7 separate regions of the Homo sapiens genome follow, and all the other regions are linked to region 1. The links are contacts of gene promoters, found by promoter capture Hi-C in blood cells and fetal thymus (Javierre and others, 2016). All regions are on one chromosome and are shown on one strand. The core of a region is centred on a gene start or on the middle of the fragment in contact, and the rest is flanking DNA. Distances in the headings are between cores, read along the strand shown.

Region 1 (2,700 bases), core at 120-2,619:
GCCCTTTGACAGTACTGCATCCTGTCCAGGGCTGGTTCCTGCCTTGTATCCTCAGCTGCTGGGACAGGATCTGGTCAACCGTGACCCTGAACTGGAATATGCAGGTAAGCAGTTATCTTGTTTTTATCAATCTTTCATAAATGTATATATAGCTTAGATTTATTTCAATGTTTATTATTAGAGGTGTTTTGAGTATTTAGAGGTTTAGTGATGTTTTTGTGACTAGGAATATGCCATAAGAGCTTAACTCTTATTTATATCAATTAGCTCTTGGGAAAATTGTCTTCATTATCAATTGTTTCACTTTATGTCACAGTTTCCAGAACCTACAGAGGACATTAAGTGAGGACTTACTGTATATAGGTGGTTGTGCTTGTGAAGGATTAAATGAGGTAATGTGTGTGAAGCACTCAGGACAGTGCCTAGCACCTGGTAAGTGTCCATGAATTGGAGGCTATTATTGCTGTAATAAGGAAATTCATACACATTAAAATGGCTAAGAAAGTTCATTTTAAATAACCGTAACATGCACATTTGTATTGCTTTCTCGGATGATCTTGCTATTCTCTATTTCAGAGGAAGTCCGTGGAGAAGCCTGCCTGTTAGCTGTCTAGGGGTCAGGTGGCTTCTTGGCAGTATATATTACATGATAAACATTGACTTAATATGGACCATAACCACAAGGTAGAAAATAGGGAAACAGGGAGTGGAAAAACCACAGTGATCCTTTCCTAGAGAGAGACCAAAATATTAACCGCTGTAAACCTCTCATGTTACAGTTCGAACACATCTTAATAAATGATTAAATCTACTCTCTCATTTCATAAGTGGGGAACTGAAGCCCCCATAAAAGTTAGGGGCAGAACTATGACTATACTCAGACCACTCTTTCCCTGTATATTATATATACCTTTTATTATAAAAAATTTCAAAAATCACAGAAATACAAAGACTAGAACAATGCACACCTATGTACTCATCATCCAGCTTTAATAACAATCAAACTGTTACCTCTCTTAAAAAAACAGCTTTGATTCTGAGTCTGGTGTCATTTATACTCCTTCACAGAGATGTTCAGAACCAGTATCTTAGAGCACATCCCCCAGGCAAAGAAATGTAGCAATAAAAAGAGAAGGACATAGCATGAGAAAAAAAGGCAGGCTGTCAACCAATGCCTAAAATGTAGAAAGTTCTCTCAAGTTGTTTTTACAATAGTCTGGAAAACACAGTCTCATTCTGAAAGGACACTGTTCCTTTAAATTGCTTACTGATCCCACCCAGATCTTGCACCCTGGCCAAATGCCTGACCACTCTTGCTTTGACTTAGTCGAATAAACATGAACAAAAGACTGCAAAAGATCCTAAAGCAAAGACACTTTTATTTCCCACAGAACAGAACAATATCAAATAGCTAACTTCACCCCCAACCACAGTCCTTGCTGTTGGCATTTACTCAACTAGTCTTTAATTCCTGTTTGACAAACTTTATAAGGTAAGACATAACAGATTTATTTTAGTCACTTGAAATCAGATAGGACCATCAAGGAACTGTGGAAGACTAAATGACTTACTTACATAATTATTAGGTGAGAAAGCTTGTCAATAGTTTGTATTCTCTGCAATTACTTCAAATCAATTATTAGAAAAATATTAACATTGTTAAAATGTAGAAATTTAAAACTTAAAATTATTTTGAAATGGATTTTTAATTTACAGTCTTCTAAATTGTTTTACAACGATGTTAATATATTTTAGGACATCTTTTTCTTAATTTGGAACAGGGTTTACAATTCAGAATTAGTTATAGAATACTTTACAACTTGGCTAATTTGTCAATTTGAATAAAGTCTTTATTCAATCATTTTCTATTTGTGTAGAAACTGAGATGCAAACATTGTAACTAAAGTTGGTGAACTCTGATATAAGATCATTTTATTTTTGAAAAATTATAAAAAATAAAGTATCTTGGATTTATTTACTGATCCTGATATTTACCCCAAATAAATTTTAGGCCAAAAGTAAAACTACGGTATTTGATTAATAATTATGATTGTTTCTGCATTTATAAAATGTAACCTATAGTAAACACAGAGGTTCACATTTCTTTCACTTAACTAATGGCACTGTTTCCTCTGAAACCTATTTTGCTTGTACGTGACATCAGAAAGAGAGAAAGGTGAGAATTATTAAAAACAGAGGCAAAATAAAACATGGTAAAAAGTGATTAGAAATGAGTGGGCTCTCAAGATGCCAAATTAATAAACGAGAAAGATATTTCAGGGAAGCAGTAGAACTAACAAGCTAGAGAAACAAATCTAGAGAGGTATGAAAATGTCCTCTGGCTACAATAGGGAAACAGAAAGAAATAACAAGACTTTGGTTTGGGAGAGCTAGATTAACAATGTCAGAGCAAATAAGAACAAAATATGAGATACTGGGATTATTGTCAATGGAAAAGTTATGTTTGTGAATATCATATATACAGGGATCAGGTACAAATTCATGATTATATGCCAAGAAAACAGTAAGAGCAGGTGCTTAGTTTTGGGAAAAGATAAATCTTTATTTAAAGCCAGTATTTCTAAAACCTTACATGAAGGGTTTTGAAGAGTTGCTTGATTATGTTGCTTATAAAATCTTGCTCAGTTCTCAATGGAATTCAGTTCTCAGCCTCTTATTTCCAGAACTTCTGAGATGTTC
Region 2 (2,700 bases), core at 176-2,675, 430 kb after region 1:
AAAAATTAGAAAAATCTTTAATCTATTTTTTTTTTTTTTTTTAATACGGAGTCTTACTCTGTCACCCAGGCTGGAGTGCAGTGGCGTGATCTCGGCTCACTGCAAGCTCCGCCTCCCGGGCTCATGCCATTCTCCTGCCTCAGCCTCCCGAGTAGCTGGGACTACAGGTGCCCACCACCACACCCAGCTAATTTTTTGTACTTTTAGTAGAGACGGGGTTTCACCATGTTAGCCAGGATGGTCTCGATCTCCTGACCTCGTGATCCGTCCGCCTTGGCCTCCCAAAGTGCTGGGATTACAGGCGTGAGCCACCATGCCCGGCCTTTAATCTATTTTATTTTTCTGATTCTGATGGCATTGCACTGTGGTTTTAATTTGCATTTCTTTGATTATGACCTAGAGTCCTTGTTTTTTAAAAACATTCATGTACCCTTTATTATTCTATAATGTCTTCTATTATGGATATTTATGTACATGTCTGAGAGCAGAGATTAAATCTTGAATATATTTGTACACTTCAGGTCATCTAACTTTTGTATAGTTAGTAATCGATAAGTATTTATTGAATAAATATGTAATCATTATTACCACTAATTAAGTATTTCTTTTGTGCCAGGTACTATAATTAGCATTTTATATACGTCGTTATATTTGTTTGACACCCATATGCTTTTAGATAGCTAAAAGTATTCCCCTTTTCCAGATATGGAAATTAAAGCTCAGAGAGTTTAAGTGATTAAGTTTTTCTACTAGGTTTTCAACTAGTGAATGAAGGAGCTGAAATTTAAAGTTTTATCTCTTTTACTCCACATTCTATGCTCTTAATTACCATGCAAAAAGGGAGCATGAAAGAAAATTTGAGTTTATTTTTTTTAAGGTGTCTGGTTGCAAGAAACAGAAACCAATTTGAAATGGCCTAAACAAAGAAGGGAGAATTTATTACAAGAATTTAAGGGCCATATGAAGAGGGCAGTATTTGGGGAACAAGAAAGAAGGGGATCAGTTTTGGAAAGCCATTAGGAATCTGGGATATATTCTCTTTCCATCTTTGATCTCTGCATTTCTGCCTTGTGTCCATGTTACTATTCTCCTCTTGCTTTAGCTTTCTCTGCTGATCTGCCCTTATGACAGAATACAGCAACTCCACAGCTCCCAAGCATACAAATTGTACCTAACAGCCATGAAAATAGACTGGCTGGCTTTCCTTTGGTCTGGATTCCACATTCCTGAGAAGAAAAATGATTAGCTCAAACTAGGTCAAATTTTCCAATTAACTATATCCAGATGAGTAGGGAGTTACAGACTACCAACAGGATTCCTAGAAGCCCAAGCTATTACTTGGGGAGCCATTTCCAGAGAAGGGAATGGCTCATGGGTTCAGTAGACCCTTCTAAAAGCATCTATCCCAGAGTTCCCATCCAGGCAATGCAGAGGCCCAGAGCAACGTATAAAGGAGGGTTGTCTTTCTTCCTGTGAACTCTGAAAATTTGGCACAGGTCTCAGTTAATTTAAAAGTTTATTTTGCCAAGATTGAGGATGTCCCCATGACACAGCCTCAGGAGGTCCTGACAACATGTGCTCAAGGTGGCTGGGGTACAGCTTAGTTTTATACATTTTAGGGAGACACGAGACATCAATCAATATATATAAGAAGTACAGTCAATATATGTAAAAAGACAGGTGAGACAGGAAGGGTTGCATTATTTTGAGCTTCTGCTTAGTCCTTCCAAAAGAGGCAATCAGCTATGCATCTCAGTGAGCAGAGGGGTGACTTTGAATAGAATGGGAGGCAGATTTGCCCTAAGCAGTTCCCAGCATAACTTTTTCCCTTTAGCTTAGTGATTTGGGGGCCTCAAGATTTGTTTTCCTTTCACATTTACCCTCTTTTCTTTTTAAAAATATTTTGGAGATGGCATTTAACTAGAAAATTAGTCTCTGGTCTCAGGTTTCACCTGATCTTTCATGGCTAGGATGGTTTATTCCTAGAAGAGCAAATAGTGGAAGAAGAAGGGAGAAAAACAACAAACAAAAGAACACTCCTGGAAAATCAATATAGGCCCCACTACTCTGAAGTCTATAAATCAGTAGCAGGTATGAAAGTGGCTTATGCATGTAAATAGGTGGCTGTTATTTTCTTCTGAACTTTAAGTTGTCTAGTTTCAGTTTGCAGGGCTTTAAGAAAGCACAGCTTGGTTTTCAGTGACTCCCAGTTAGGAAAAATTGAAAAAAAAAAAAAAAAAGAAGGAAAAAAAAGAAAAAAAAAATTGAAAACATTATTTTGAAGACTTGTAGTCAAGAGAAAATTAGAATTTAGCCCAAACTGTAGAAATAATAAAAATTGAAAAACATTAGACAAGACTAGAATCTAACAACAGGTGTACAATTGTTTTTGAAACATAATTTTTCTCTCTCCAGTTTCCCATTTTTGCTAAAGACAAATCATGGTAGGATTGGTTTGCTTTATTATACTTGGCCTAATTACTTATATACAGTGCAAAAAAAATTATTTTTTACATAGGCTTTATATTGGCTTTGATGGAACCTTGTTCCATAGAAGGAATACCAGATAAGATGTTTTTAAAGCAGAGCCCAGCCATGGATTTGTGCCATCAAATACCTGTGAGTTGGGTGAATTTTCTCTCCTCTTGAGGTTCCAAGATAAACCGGGGGCCTCTACGCCTGTTAGAAGTGACATTCTTT
Region 3 (2,700 bases), core at 173-2,672, 460 kb after region 1:
AAGAATTTGATGTAATGCAAATGGAAAACTTGACAGCACATGTCAGGCTTTACCCAACATCAAAATAGTGGAAAGAAAATTGTTGATTATTTATTTATGAAATTGTTAATACATAGTCTCAAACTTTATCATTGCACAAGAATCTAGTGGTGACTTGGTAAATGCAGTGCCATTTTCTCATGGCATTCCTTTATTTAATATGTGTTCTAAGTAGGTACATTTATTTTTACTTTTTTATTATAATAATTTTGATATTAAAAAGAACAGAGATGGGGTCTCACTTTGTTGCCCAGGCTGGTCTCGAACTCCTGGCCTCAAGTGATCTTCTCACCTTGTCCTCCCAAAGTGCTGGAGTTACAGGCATCAGTCACTGTGCTAGGCCTATTTTATTTACAGAACTAATTTAAGCTGTTTTTATTTTAATATGCCCTATAAACATTTTTATTTTTCTTGAAATTGGTTCTTAGTGTTCACAACTTCCATAAGATACTGCGAATGCACCAGTATTAAAACACATCAACATAAGTAGCTCATTTAGCTTTTTCTGCTGTTCTTGGCCCAAGTTCTCTCCAAAACCAACTCTTAGGCCTACTCTTTACTAGGGACCCTATGTTATTGCTTTACAGCCACAACACTTGGATGCCTGTTTATTGATTTCTCCATGCTCTTAAGCACCTTTAGAAGATTTAGAAGATTCCTAGTTTTAAGTGTCTCACCAGCAAGTATTCCATACCTAGTTGATGTTGCTGGTCTGATGTCTTATTTCCTAAAGTGAGGCATCTTTTTTAAAAAAGAATTGGATTTAAAATATATCCAGTCCAATACAAGTATGAATATAAGTAAGTGTTCTCTCTTCTGAGTTTGTAGCAGGCAGCCAAACATTTTCAAACGATGCCCAAGATTTTAGTTGCCTTGTGTGCATCCACAGCCTGCAAAGAGAGATGATAAGGACATCAGGGAGCCAACAAGACTCCTGGTAAGCTCACTACATACATCCAGTGCCTGTTCTGCATGCCTAAGCTTAGAGTTCTTTTATAGACCTCTAAGGCCAGCAAAATGCTCAGGTCTGCTTTTGGTACGGTAAACACAAAGAACATACACAGGCTGGGTGCGGTGGCTCACATCTGTTATCCCAGCACTTTGGGAGGTTGAGGCGGGTGGATCACGAGGTCAGGAGGTGGAGACCATTCTGGCCAACATGGTGAAACCCTGTCTCTGTTAAAAATATAAAAATTAGCCAGGCGTGGTGGCACGTGCCTGTAGTGTCAGCTACTCAGGAGGCTGAGGCAGGAGAATCGCTTGATCCTGGCAGGCGGAGGTTGCAGTGAGCCGAGATCGCCACTGCACTCCAGCTGGCCAAGACTCCATCTCAAAACAAAACAAAACAAAACAAAAAACAAAAACATACAAAAAAAAAATCAGCATCATAAGGGAATGTAGCCTTTCAACAGAGATGATGCTGTTCTTAACGTTAATCTCAGAGACAGTATTTCAAGAGAGTGGCAGGTCTGTTCCTGGTAAAATTTTAACCATTAGGATTGCAGATAAATATTTGAATTCTCCCCCACCCCCACACCAACCAGTCTTCCCTCATCAATCCAGGACAGTATTTGAAGTGTGGGGGCTTTGTGTTAGTTGCTTATCCATTATCACATTTTCGTATTTTAATAGTCTGCATGCCATATAAAAGAACATGGCTTTTTGATTGATAAAAGGGATTATAGATGTCGGCTCAAGTTCAGGGCCACCATCATATACCTAACAAGAGCTCATGCTTCTTTAGGTAATGTCAAAGCATTTTATATTTTTCCATCTTAAGCTTTATAACATTTTGTGAATAAGACAAGTGTTATTTAAAATTCTAGTTGTCAAGCCAGGCTTTCATAGTTCAGATGTTATAATATTTGCTAGGGACCCTCAACAAATATATAAAAATATATTGCTCACTCTATAATCCTCCTTTACAAAAAGTATCACAGAGGGAGTCCACCCACGAGGGGCAACATCATCATCTCCTTTGGATATTACGAATAATGTCACAGAGGTGACATATTGTCACCTCATTATGTGACATAATGTCACATAATGTCCGCCCATGGGGATATTTGTGGCAATATAATTATCTCTCATGAATATTATGAATAATGTCACAAAGGGTGACCACCCACGGTGATATTAGTGGCAATGTCATCATACGCCATGGATATTATGAATAATGTCACTAAGGGTGTACACCCCCTGTGATATTAGGAATAATATAGTCTTCTTTTTTGGATATTATGAATAATAATATCACCAAGGATGTACACCTTTGTGACATTAGAAGGAATATAATCTCCTTCCTTGGATATTATGAATAATAGTATCACCGAGGGTGTACATTCCGTGGGATATTACAAGTAACATCATCTACTCCCTTGGATATTACGAACAATAACATCACAGAGGGTGTAACCATGCAATATTAGGAGTAACATCATCTCCTCCCTCGGATATTACAAATAATAGCATCACAGAGGGTGTACATCCAATGTGATATTAGAAGGAACATGATCTCCTCCCATGGATATTATGAATAATAGCATCACAAAGAGTGTACGTCCCATGCGATATTAGGAGTAACATTATATCTTTCCTTGTATATTACAAATAATAGTATCACAGAGAATATACACCCTGTTCAATATTAGGAGTAACGTC
Region 4 (2,700 bases), core at 45-2,544, 440 kb after region 1:
TACAGCTGTTATATGTAACTCTTTATTGCCTATCAAAAAAAGCTGCAAATTCCTTAGTGTGGGAGAGATACTCATTATAATCTGATCCCCATTCTGCTCTCCCACATCAGTCTCTCTCCAGTCACTCTCTCTTTGTAGACTCTTCAGTGCTGTTTTGTTTCAAAGCGAGCCTTTCATTTTTCAGCTCCTTTTTCTCACTCAAGTTTACATTTTATGCCTGTGTACATTTTTGCTGTCTGCCTGTTTATATTCAGAAGTTTTATAACACCTGTTGTAGTTTTAGGAGATTGTAATTAATAATTTCCTGTTTCCTCATTTGAGTTAAAAATCAATGTCAGATATATGTAGAGATCAGGCATACAGAAAGCGGAATATTACCTGAATTGGAAGAGATCTCGAACTTCAGGCCGTGTATGCTAGGCAGGACTCGCTCTCCAGGTCTAGGGGAAGTCCACTCCAGAAGGAGTTGAGCTATAGTGTTGATACATTTATGCAGAATCACTGCTTTACATCCACTGAGAAAGAGAGGGGAATCTTCTTACTGTTTGCAGGCTTTAAAAAAAAATGAGCATCACGTGTTAGTCTACCTTGCATTGCTATAAAGGAATGCCTGAGGCTGGGTAATTTATAAAGAAAAGAGGTTTATTTGGCTCATAGTTCTGTGTAAGAAGCATGATAACAGCATCTGCTTCGGGAGGGCCTCAGGAAGCTTCCATTCATAGTGGAAGACAAAGGGGAAGTGGACATATCACATGGCAGGAGAGAGGTAGTAAGAGAGGGAGGAGGAGGTCCCAGTCTCCTTTAAATAACCTAGCTCTCGTGTGAACTGCCAGAATGAGAGCTCACTCATTACCATTGGGATGGCACCAAGCCATTGATGAAAGATTTGCCCCCGTGACCCAAACACCTCTCACTAGGCTCATCTGCAACATTGGAGGTCACATTTGAACATGAGATTTGGAGGAGACACACACCCAAATTATATCACATCAGTAGGTGGCAATGAGGTCTGACTCAAGGACATGTGTAAACAAAGCTGGGACTTTCCTCAATATTTGTGGAGAGAAAAGCTAGAATGTGGGGGCATCTTGCTAATTTTTCAGGTAGAATCTCAGAGTCGTTGTAATTAGGGTGTTAAAGGAAATGTGGTAAGCAGAAGAGAGATGGTCTATGAGAGAAACTTACTATTATATAAACATTCATACTTAAACATATGTTAAAATTATGACAAGATATAAAACATAAACCAGCACTATATAAACAGATTGTTCATAAAAACAACTCTAGGAATGTGTTTGATTCTTTTACTGTATATTTTTGAGGCATTTTTGTTTTGATATATTACAAATAAATTATAGAGAATAATATAAATGACTCCCATATACTTATTACACAGCTTGATTGAAGCTCCTGTGTGAAATTTTGAAAATATAGTTTAAATATAAAATGCAGCTTCAAAAAAATTCCCAAACACATCAACAATTCATGTTCCTCCAAATACACTTTGGGGATCGTGAGCATTGGGTTATGTGGCCAGCAGCCTCTGCGAGGACTCCCAGTGATGCCTGCTGCCTGGCATTTACACCTTTGCATAACCTCCCCACCTTCAGTGTGGGCTGAGGCTTTTGAAAGTGAAGTCTTATTGGAACACAGCTACACCCATTTGTTTACATGTTGCCCACTGCTACAATGGCAAAGTTGAGTTGTTTCAACAGAGACATACATGGCCAGCAGAGCCTAATATATTTACTCTCTGGCCCTTTGCAGAAAAGGTTTTGCTGACCTTTCTAACTCATTATTCCTAATGGCTAGCCATGGCTTCCCAGGAGCTCATTAAGCTATTAAAACGCCAGTGAATCTGTATATTCTACAAGCTTAACTGCCGTGTGAATGAATATGGCTCAAATATAAATTTTCAAATATACGTTGTCAAAAACAAAATACAAATTAATTTCAAAGCATTAGAGGATTTATGGTAGCTTTTACTCTTTATGTATTTTTTTCAGCTAGGGGATAAAACAAAATAACAATTTATATAATTTATATCACATGGAGTCCTGTGAAATGTTTTTGCATTATGTGCTTCACTTTTTTTTCTTTTAATGATTGTAAACGATTGATCTAGTTAGACTCTATGGGCCAAGATTACCTTAATGAAACATAGATATCTTAGTCAATTTAAATATTTGAGATTAGTTATACCATGTATGTGGTCATTGATTCCCAGGGCCAAATTCTATTTTACACTAAATATGATGGGTGAAAAATAATAGCTTGAGACCATTAAGATGCAACACTAATAATAATAATTTCCTGAACACTTAGCTTGTGCCAGACACTGTCCTAAGTGTTTTTCATGAATTTACTCCTTTAATCATCGTAACATCATGTGGAGTTATCAGGACATAAAGCCACATGTTAGATTCAGGTTTAGAAACTTATTAATGTTTTAATTTTACAATTTAAAATATTATAGGCCGGGCACAGTGGCCCACACCTGTAATCCCAGCACTTTGGGAGGCTGAGGTGGGCAGATCACTTGAGCCCAGGAGTTCCAGACCAGCCTGGGCAACATGATGAGACCCTGTCTCTACAAAAAATAAAAAATTAGCCAGGTGTGGTGTTGTGCACCTGTAGTCCTAGCTACTCAGGAGGCTGAGGCAGGAGGATCCCTTGAGCCTGGGAAGTCAAGGCTGCAGT
Region 5 (2,700 bases), core at 79-2,578, 490 kb after region 1:
TTTTTGGAAATATTTTCGAATATTAAAAAAAAGGGCAAGAGCTGATTCACTCTTTCTGTTGTGGTTGGGAGCTTGACAGGAGAAGATATTCAATGACAGCTTTGAATAGTTGTATTAGTCCATTTTCATATTGCTATAAAGAACTACCCAAGACTGGATAGTTTATAAAGGAAAGAGGTATAATTGACTCACAGTTCAGCATTGCTGGGGAAGCCTCAGGAAACACAATCACAGCAGAAAGTGAAGGGAAAGCAAGACACCTTCTTCATAAGGTGGCAGGAAGAAGGGTTGAGCAAAGGGGGAAGAGCCCCATTGGATTTCATGAGAACTCACATAGTATCAGGAGAACAGCATTGGGGAAGCTGCCCCCCGTGATTCAATTACCTCCACCTGGTCTCTCCCTTGACATGTGGGGATTTTGGGGATTAAAATTCAAGATGAGATTTGAGTGGCCTAAGCATATCAATGGTACTCTGCAAAATTGGGATAAACACTGAGGTTGAGGTTATAAACTAGGTGGCGGGTAGTTTGAGAAAATGGAAAATCTCTTTGCTCTCTAACAGATAGCTAGTACTGTTTGGCAGGAAGTGTATTTCAAAAGACAAATTAGGACCAATGTGGCAAATGAGGTTAAAGATGATTCTTGAAATGGAACTGTAGTCAGATTGTCCAGGAGCATTTGAGATAAAGTGTAGTGTGGTAGACGTAGGCTGACTAGGCTTATTCTTATCCAGAAGATGGGCGTCAAGGGTAGTGTTGAGTCGAAGAGACTGGGTCAGGGCTACAAACTGATAGCAGTGGCCTTGGATGCAGATTGTACCTTTGCTTGTGCTGACAAATCCTTCTCAGCTCCCCACTCCACTTTAATCAAACTCCCGGAACTGCTTCAAGATGCCCTGGTTCTCAGGTAGATACTTAGGGAAGGTGTGTCTTTCTTTTTTCTGCACTGGGGCATGACGAGAGAGACATCTAACTCTGCAGTTGTACTGGGCTGGTGTACTGGGCCATCAAGGCGCTACTGAGCCCAGGTGTAATGAATCTAATCTCAAAGGAAATAGAAAGCTGTGGAGGGCCACCACTAAATTATGGCCAGTTACTACTATTTCTTGAATACCTGTCCTGCCCTGGACACTACAGTTTATACTTTACAGGAACATTACCTCACCTCTACACCTTACAGCAAATTTTCAGTGTGAGTATTTTAATTCCATTTAACAGTTGGGGCACTTAGGATAAGAGAGGTAAAGATTCTTGCTTAGAGTCCTACAACTTGTAAATGGCTGAGGCTTGGTTTTAACTTGATTTGTGTGATTCTAAAGATAGTGTCCTCTCCACCACTTGGCCTGGTAGGGAAAGCTGGAGAAATGTGTCCAAACATGTGGTCTACACACCAGGCCTGGAATCTAGCTGACTGGAATGAGCGAATGGATCTCAATCATGCATTCTCAATGAGGGTTGTATTGCCCACAGGGAGCGGCCAAAAATTCTTAGGTCTCATTTAATGGTTTGTAGTCCTACAAAGGTCAAGAGTTCATAACCATATATATCGTATATCTGTGGTATTGACATTTTATACGGAGGGTGTGATCAGGAAAAAAAAAAGTCTAAAAAGGCTCCTTAGGGAGGTCATGATAGTTAAAAGGTTGACAGTCACTGCTTTTTAGTTGCATATCAGGCATAGGAGGGTACTGTGGCTAAATTTCAACCTGCCCCCTTGATGAACTAGTCTCTAACTGGGCAGGGCAGGGCTGAGTTTTGCTTAATTTTACCAGAAGAAAGCCTGCTGTACACTGGGAAAAAAATAGTGTTTCTCACATATTCTGATCTGTTCCTAGTGCGCACCATCATTATGTCATTCTTTCATCTATAAAAGTCTGCCCTGAAGGTCCTGTCAGGCAATCTTGAGCGGGCTGGCTGCAGATTACCAGGTCCAGAAGGTTGGGTAAAGGGTGGAAAATATAGTTGCTAGTAATGATGAACAAGGGTGGTTTAGGTAGAGGGGAGCAATGTTTTTCCCTTCTAGGCTCTGGCTGCTCAGAGTATAGTCCTCGGGAGGCAGCACCAGCACCACCTGGGAGCTTGTTAGAAATGCAGCATATCGGGATCCACTCAGCCTTAATGGGTCTCCTGGACAACATGCATATCAAACGGCAACAGCATATCAAAAATAGATCATGCAGGAACAAGAGAGGAAGTAGAAAGCCTACTAAAGAGGCTGTCCAGGAGAAAGTGTAGTTCAGAGACCCGTTAAGTTAAATTTTGAGAAGTACAGCTCTAGGCCAGGGGTGTTCAGTCTTGGCTAAGTTAGAATCTCCTGGACATATTAGACAATATAAGATTCCTAGGCCCTACTTGAAACAACTTAGATCAAGCACTGGCTTGGGAAGGTACTTGCAGGTATGGTTTTATATTGAGTGACCTGATTTATGGTTTGCATAGATCCCTCTGCTACAGAGGATAATTTGTGAGTGGGTGTGGAAGGCAGGCAGGGCCAGGAATGAAAGCAAGGAGACCACGGAGACCTTCCATACAGGCTGTATTAGGCAGAGCAAAACTGCATCAATGTTTTCTTTCTTTTTTTTTTTTTTTCAAGACAGTGTCTCACTCTGTTGCCCAAGCTGGAGTGCAGTGGCATGATCTAGACTCACTGCAACTTCTGCCACCTGGGTCCAAGTGATTCTCTTGCCTCAGCCTCCCACG
Region 6 (2,700 bases), core at 54-2,553, 410 kb after region 1:
TATCATTATTCTTCTTGATGACAGCCTATCAAAACTGCTAGTTTTCCAGTCAAATTCACGAAAACTATAGTGCTTCTATGGAGCATTTTATTTCTGACTTACATGCATTGCTGCCACAGCAGTAATTAGAAGTTACTCTCTGGAGTATCAGATTGCCTAGGTTCACATGTGGATTCTACCACTTGCTATTTGACCTCATGCAAATTCTGAATCTTTCTGTGCCTGTTTTCTCTTCTGTAAAATGGGAATAATAATAATACCTAGGATTGGTGTGGAAATTAAATGAGATAACACATATTACCTTAGTGAGTGCTCCATAAAGGTTAACTATTATTAATATCATTATTATTGCACATTGACATTTCACTAAGATCCCACAAAGTGCACTGTGTCTCTTTACCTTCACTCAAGCTCCTTTCCCCAGAAGTATCTCTCTCTGTTTGGCCAACTAAAGTCTCTCATTTCAGCCTCTGGGGACTTCTTCCTCCTATGAAATACACTTGTATCCTCTCATTTGACACTTATCCCACACTTTCTATTATCATTGAACCATAGAATGTTTGAGATGGAAAAAAATGATTCACTCAAACCTGTCATTTTACAGCTGGTGTAACAGAGGTCCCATTAGGATAAATTATTTCCCAAGGCCATATCTTTAAAACATAGACCAGGTCACAACTTGGTCTCCTAACTCTCAGTCTCTATGTCTACAACGTGATTTTAAGTACTTAACAGAATTCCTGCACACAATTCTCAGTAGTTTACTGGCTTCTTGCATGAATTCTTAAAATATACTGTGCTCAGTCAGTAATTTTTAGAGCCAAATCCAAGAACTTTGCTTGTCATAGTGCCTAAGCTCTTGTCATTCTCCAAGATTAAAGAAACGATACTCAGACCTGTCAAAATATAATCACAAAGCTTATCAGGAAAATCATCTGAAAATAAGTCATGCATATTGTATGATATGAGAAGGATATACTACATAGCAGGAGATGCTGCATAGATTTTATGCGGTAGACATACATTCCTGCTGTAGTGTCAGTTCTTTTAGAGATTAGCCAAAAATATAAGAAGGCTGCTATGTAATTGCAAGGAAAACACTTTTTATCATTAGTTTAGTCTTTAGGTAAATGCTTTAAAAATAAATTTCAATATCTTTAGCCCAATAAGATAAAGGTCTGTATACTATACCCCTACAAAGTAAACACAACTAGATAAAAAGTAAAATACAGGCGAAACCAATCTTGTATTTGTATGCAAGATAGCAGTTACATAGCTTTTCCAGGGCTGAGGAACTGAGTGTTGTCTCTGAGAGTTATGTTTATGTCCACAGGCCACTGTGGACTTTGGTGGGGAATAAATAAGGAAGTCCAGCATGCATATTCTGGGAAAGAAGAAGAAAAGAGGAAGAACATGGGAAAGGTAGGAGAGAAATCTCCTTCTGTAAAAAGAAAGTAGAAGAGCAATCTCATTTCTCCCAACTTTTCTCTCACAATTTTTAGAATGCTGTGTGTCAGGGGTTCCCAAGACCACCCCTCATTTCCAATGATTTGGTAAAAGGATTCAAATAATTTAGCATGTATTTGTACTTATGGCTGATATTATTACCATGAAAAGATAGAAAGCCAAATCAAAAAAGGGAAAAGGCACATGAGGCAAAACCAGGAGAAAACCAGGCACAAGCTTCCAAGGGTTCTTTCATAGTGGAGTGGCTTAATTCCTTCAGCAATGAGTTGTGGCAACACATGCAAAGTGCTTTCTACTGGGCCAGCTCAGAAGAGACTTGGTGTCCAAGGTTTCTTTTATTGAAGGCTTGTCAAATAGGAACCCTCTTCCTACCATATACCAAAATTCCAGGCTCCCCTCCCAGGGAGGTGTTCACCATAAACATGCTGTTTACACAAACAGTATAGCCATAGTGAGTCACCTTTGTTATTTAGGCAAATTTTTAAAGGTGTGCAGGAAACTTTTTACCAGCCAAGTTCCCAGATGCCAGCTAAGGGCTGATCTTGTAAGTGGGCCTTTCTAAGGATAGCAGGCTCAGGCCTGCTATGTTAACTATTCTGCTCACACTATTTTCTTCATTCCAGCATTCAGAGAGACATAAGAATGACAACTGACATAATCTCATTTAAGATAACTCATCTGTAGCACAGACAGGCTGACTACCTTGTTTTAAGTCATATCTAGTTAGTTGGCTAGGATAGTTCACCTGGGACCATAGGTGTGAACCCTTGGTTCTGGCTGTTAGTTGGATTCCTTGCTTCTTCTCTACTTCATGTTCACAGAGGTAGCCAAGATGCTGCCAGACAACTTCTTCTCACATGTCTGATGTCTTGGTTGGGACGGCTGGAATAGCTAGGCCTAGTGCCATGTCTATGCAGATTTATCAGGGGGATATCTTGGGCTTCCCTATACATGGTGGTCCCAGATACCTGGAGTTCTTACATAATGGTTAGTTTCCCCTAGAGCAAGCATTCTAAGAGACACACTGGAAGTCCTAGAGGATCACTTGTCACATTCTATTAGTAAAGCAAAGTACTAAGACTCGCTCCAGATTCAAAGTGAGGAGAATTAAACTCAATAGCAGGAATAGCAAATGATTTGCAACCATCTGTAATATATTGCAATAAATAATGTATCTGAATAGCTTCACATATATCCATTTCTATTATTCTAGTTATGTACTTTGCATGTTTT
Region 7 (2,700 bases), core at 174-2,673, 500 kb after region 1:
TCCAGCTTGAGCCCAGAGAAGCCATCCCTGACTATATCTCACAGGGAACCTTGGTGAAGGCAGCTGGCAAAATTCGGGAGGGGTCACAGCATGAAAGGAGCTTCCAACTGAACTATGTAATAATTTTGACTGGGTGCAAACTTTCTTGAGCAGAATCTGGGGGTGAACAGGAATTGCCTCAAAGAGTAGAGCAGGAGTTGAGGCAGACAGTGTGGACAGACAGGAAGGGGCATGGCCTGAAAGCCTTGCTTGCTTTCTCAGTGGGGAAACTTATAGTCTGGGGTAAGGTCTGAGTCCTGTGGACAGGCTGCCTGGAGACAAACTTAGCGCTGTTAGCAGGGTACAGTGGAAAAGATACCAGTCTCACCAACACGTGGGAACTGGGTAAGGCCTATCACTAATGCCTTTCCACCACTTCCCTAGCCACGGATGCAGCCATAATTTCCTCTGGAACATAAGCCTATTGGCCCAAGAACTACCCCCTATCCCCCACAGTGGTCACAACAAGCCCCACTCAAGTGTCTGAGCTCAGACCCACCTAACCCTGCTCCCACCTGATGGTATTTCTCTACCTGTCCTGGTAGCGTATCACAAAATATAAACTCTTGGGAGCTTTATGACCCTTCCCATTGCCTGAGAAACCCAAATAGTTACCCTGGTCAACTTAGGGCAAGCTTATATCCACCTTCTACTATCATAGCTGGTGCCCTCTTGAAAGCACCACCTCCTGGCTGGAGGCCAACCAACTCAGATCCTTATAGCAACTCATGACAAAATAAGCCTGATCCCAGGAAGAACAAGGCAACAGCTAATTCCACTGCCCGCAACATCCTGGCTAACCAGAGTGTGTCCTGAGTGTGTCCATGTAACAACTTCACTGCTAGCGTAACAAGTATTTAAGAAGCCAGCACACTAAAAATATCTACAACCGAGGACTGTCACAGAGTCTGCTTCACTCCCCTGCCACCTCCACCAGAGCAGGTGCTGGTATCCATGAATGGGAGACCTGAAGATGGATCACATCACAGGATTGTTTGGAGACATTATCTAGCACCAGCCCAGAGCTCAGTAGCCCAAATGGGTGGCTAGACCAAGAAGAGCAATAAGAATCACTGCAGTCTGGCTAACAGGAAGCCCCATCCCTAGGGAAAGGGGGAACACACCACACCAAGGGACCACTTCATGAGACAAAAGAATCTGAACAGTAGCCCTTGAGTTCCAGACTTTTGTGCAGAAATAGTCTACCCAAATGAGAAGGAATCAGAAAAGTTAGTCTGGCAATATGACAAAACAAGGTTCTGTAACATCCCTAAAAGACCACACTAGTTCCTTAGCAATGGATCCAAACCAAGAAGAAAGCTCTAAATTGCCAAAGAATTCAGAAGGTTGATTATTAAGCTACTCAAGGAGATAACAGAGAAAGGTGGAGACTAACTTAAATTAAAAAAAACAGGATATGGATGAAAAATGCTCCACGTATTATATATATATATATGTATGTGTCTATATATATATGTATGTATATATGTGTATAAGTATATATATGTGTATATATATATTTTTTAAATAACAACTTCTAGTAATGAAAGACAGACTTAGAGAAATACAAAATGCAGTGGAAAGTTTCAACAATAGAATCAAACAAGTAGAAGAAAGAACTTCAGAGCTCAAATACAAGGCTTTTCAAATTAATTCAATCAGACAAAAACAAAGAAGAAGGAATTTGGTAAAAATGAAGAAGGCCTCCAAGAAACTTGGAATTATGTTAAATGGCCAAATCTAAGAATAATTGGTATTCCTGAGGTAGAAGAGAAATCTAAAAGTTTGGAAAACATATTTGAGGGAATAATTGAGAAAAATGTCCCTGGCCTTGCAAAAGATCTAGACATCCAAATACAAGAAGCTCAAAGAACACCTGTGAAATTCATCGCAGAAAGATAGTAATCCCAGGCACATAGTAATCAGGTTATCTAAAGTCAAAATAAAGGAAAGATTGTTAAGAGCTGTGAGACAAAAATCATTAAGTAACCTATAAAAGAAAACCTATCAGATGAATAACAGATTTCTCAGCAGAAATCCTGCAAGCCAAAAGGGATTGGGGTCATATCTTTAGCCTCCTCAAACAAAATAATTATCAGCCAAGAATTTTGGCTGTAGCAAAACTAAGCTTCATAAATGAAAGAGAGATAAAGTCATTTTCAGACACACAAATACTGAAAGAATTCACCACTACCAATCCAGTGCTACAAGAAATGCTAAAAGGAGTTCTAAATGTTGAAACAAATCCTCAAAATATACCAAAATAGAACCTATTTAAAGCATAAATCTCACAGGGCCTAGAAAACAAAATACAATTATAAAAAGGGATTTAGGCAACAAGTAGCAAAAATGAATACCACAGTACTTCACATCGCAATACTAACAATGAATGTAAATGGCTTAAATGCTCCACTTAAAAGATACAGAATGGCAGAATGGAGAAAAATCTACCAATCAAGTATCTGCTGTCTTCACGAGACTTACCCAATGCACAAGGACTCACATAAACTTAAGGTAAATGAGTGGGAAAAGATATTCCATGAAAATGGAAACCAAAAGTGAGCAGGGGTAGCTATTCTTATATCTCACAAAACAGACTTTAAAGCAACAACAGTTAAAAAAAGACAAAGAGGGACATTATATAATGATAAAAGGATCAGT

The links. Contacts are between HindIII fragments. The CHiCAGO score rates a contact against its expected background, and 5 or more counts as called.
Region 2: a contact is called between a fragment that was not itself captured here and the fragment with the promoter of COL28A1 in region 1, in 17 of 17 cell types (total B cells, naive B cells, total CD4 T cells and 14 more). The highest score is 34.5, in total B cells.
Region 3: a fragment that was not itself captured here is called in contact with the fragment with the promoter of COL28A1 in region 1 in 3 of 17 cell types (total CD4 T cells, non-activated CD4 T cells and naive CD8 T cells); the score reaches 6.6 in total CD4 T cells.
Region 4: a fragment that was not itself captured here is called in contact with the fragment with the promoter of COL28A1 in region 1 in 17 of 17 cell types (total CD4 T cells, total CD8 T cells, naive B cells and 14 more); the score reaches 31.8 in total CD4 T cells.
Region 5: a contact is called between a fragment that was not itself captured here and the fragment with the promoter of COL28A1 in region 1, in 1 of 17 cell types (total CD4 T cells). The highest score is 5.8, in total CD4 T cells.
Region 6: a fragment that was not itself captured here is called in contact with the fragment with the promoter of COL28A1 in region 1 in 13 of 17 cell types (total B cells, activated CD4 T cells, total CD8 T cells and 10 more); the score reaches 15.6 in total B cells.
Region 7: a contact is called between a fragment that was not itself captured here and the fragment with the promoter of COL28A1 in region 1, in 14 of 17 cell types (naive CD4 T cells, total CD8 T cells, activated CD4 T cells and 11 more). The highest score is 10.2, in naive CD4 T cells.

The regions. Positions count from the first base shown.
Region 1 is chr7:7,534,542-7,537,241 of GRCh38, reverse strand. COL28A1 (collagen type XXVIII alpha 1 chain) reads left to right here and starts at 1,369. Exons shown (of 35, transcript NM_001037763.3): 1 at 1,369-1,492. The HindIII fragment of the contact is 1,663 bases long and covers 1-1,597 here.
Region 2 is chr7:7,109,422-7,112,121 of GRCh38, reverse strand. It overlaps LOC105375138 (a long non-coding RNA gene), which reads right to left. Exons shown (of 5, transcript XR_927009.3): 5 at 847-2,679. Among named protein-coding and RNA genes, the nearest start is that of MIR3683, 44 kb to the right of the region's middle. The HindIII fragment of the contact is 4,408 bases long and covers 1-2,700 here.
Region 3 is chr7:7,075,131-7,077,830 of GRCh38, reverse strand. All of the region lies in intron 1 of LOC105375138 (a long non-coding RNA gene), which reads right to left. It also overlaps the pseudogene LOC100131257. Among named protein-coding and RNA genes, the nearest start is that of MIR3683, 9.4 kb to the right of the region's middle. The HindIII fragment of the contact is 799 bases long and covers 1,023-1,821 here.
Region 4 is chr7:7,092,810-7,095,509 of GRCh38, reverse strand. It overlaps LOC105375138 (a long non-coding RNA gene), which reads right to left. Exons shown (of 5, transcript XR_927009.3): 2 at 379-552. It also overlaps the pseudogene LOC100131257. Among named protein-coding and RNA genes, the nearest start is that of MIR3683, 27 kb to the right of the region's middle. The HindIII fragment of the contact is 1,165 bases long and covers 712-1,876 here.
Region 5 is chr7:7,046,441-7,049,140 of GRCh38, reverse strand. The region is part of intron 1 of LOC105375138 (a long non-coding RNA gene); the gene reads right to left. Among named protein-coding and RNA genes, the nearest start is that of MIR3683, 19 kb to the left of the region's middle. The HindIII fragment of the contact is 7,534 bases long and covers 1-2,700 here.
Region 6 is chr7:7,126,619-7,129,318 of GRCh38, reverse strand. No RefSeq gene overlaps it. Among named protein-coding and RNA genes, the nearest start is that of C1GALT1, 55 kb to the left of the region's middle. The HindIII fragment of the contact is 765 bases long and covers 921-1,685 here.
Region 7 is chr7:7,030,472-7,033,171 of GRCh38, reverse strand. All of the region lies in intron 1 of LOC105375138 (a long non-coding RNA gene), which reads right to left. Among named protein-coding and RNA genes, the nearest start is that of MIR3683, 35 kb to the left of the region's middle. The HindIII fragment of the contact is 1,493 bases long and covers 677-2,169 here.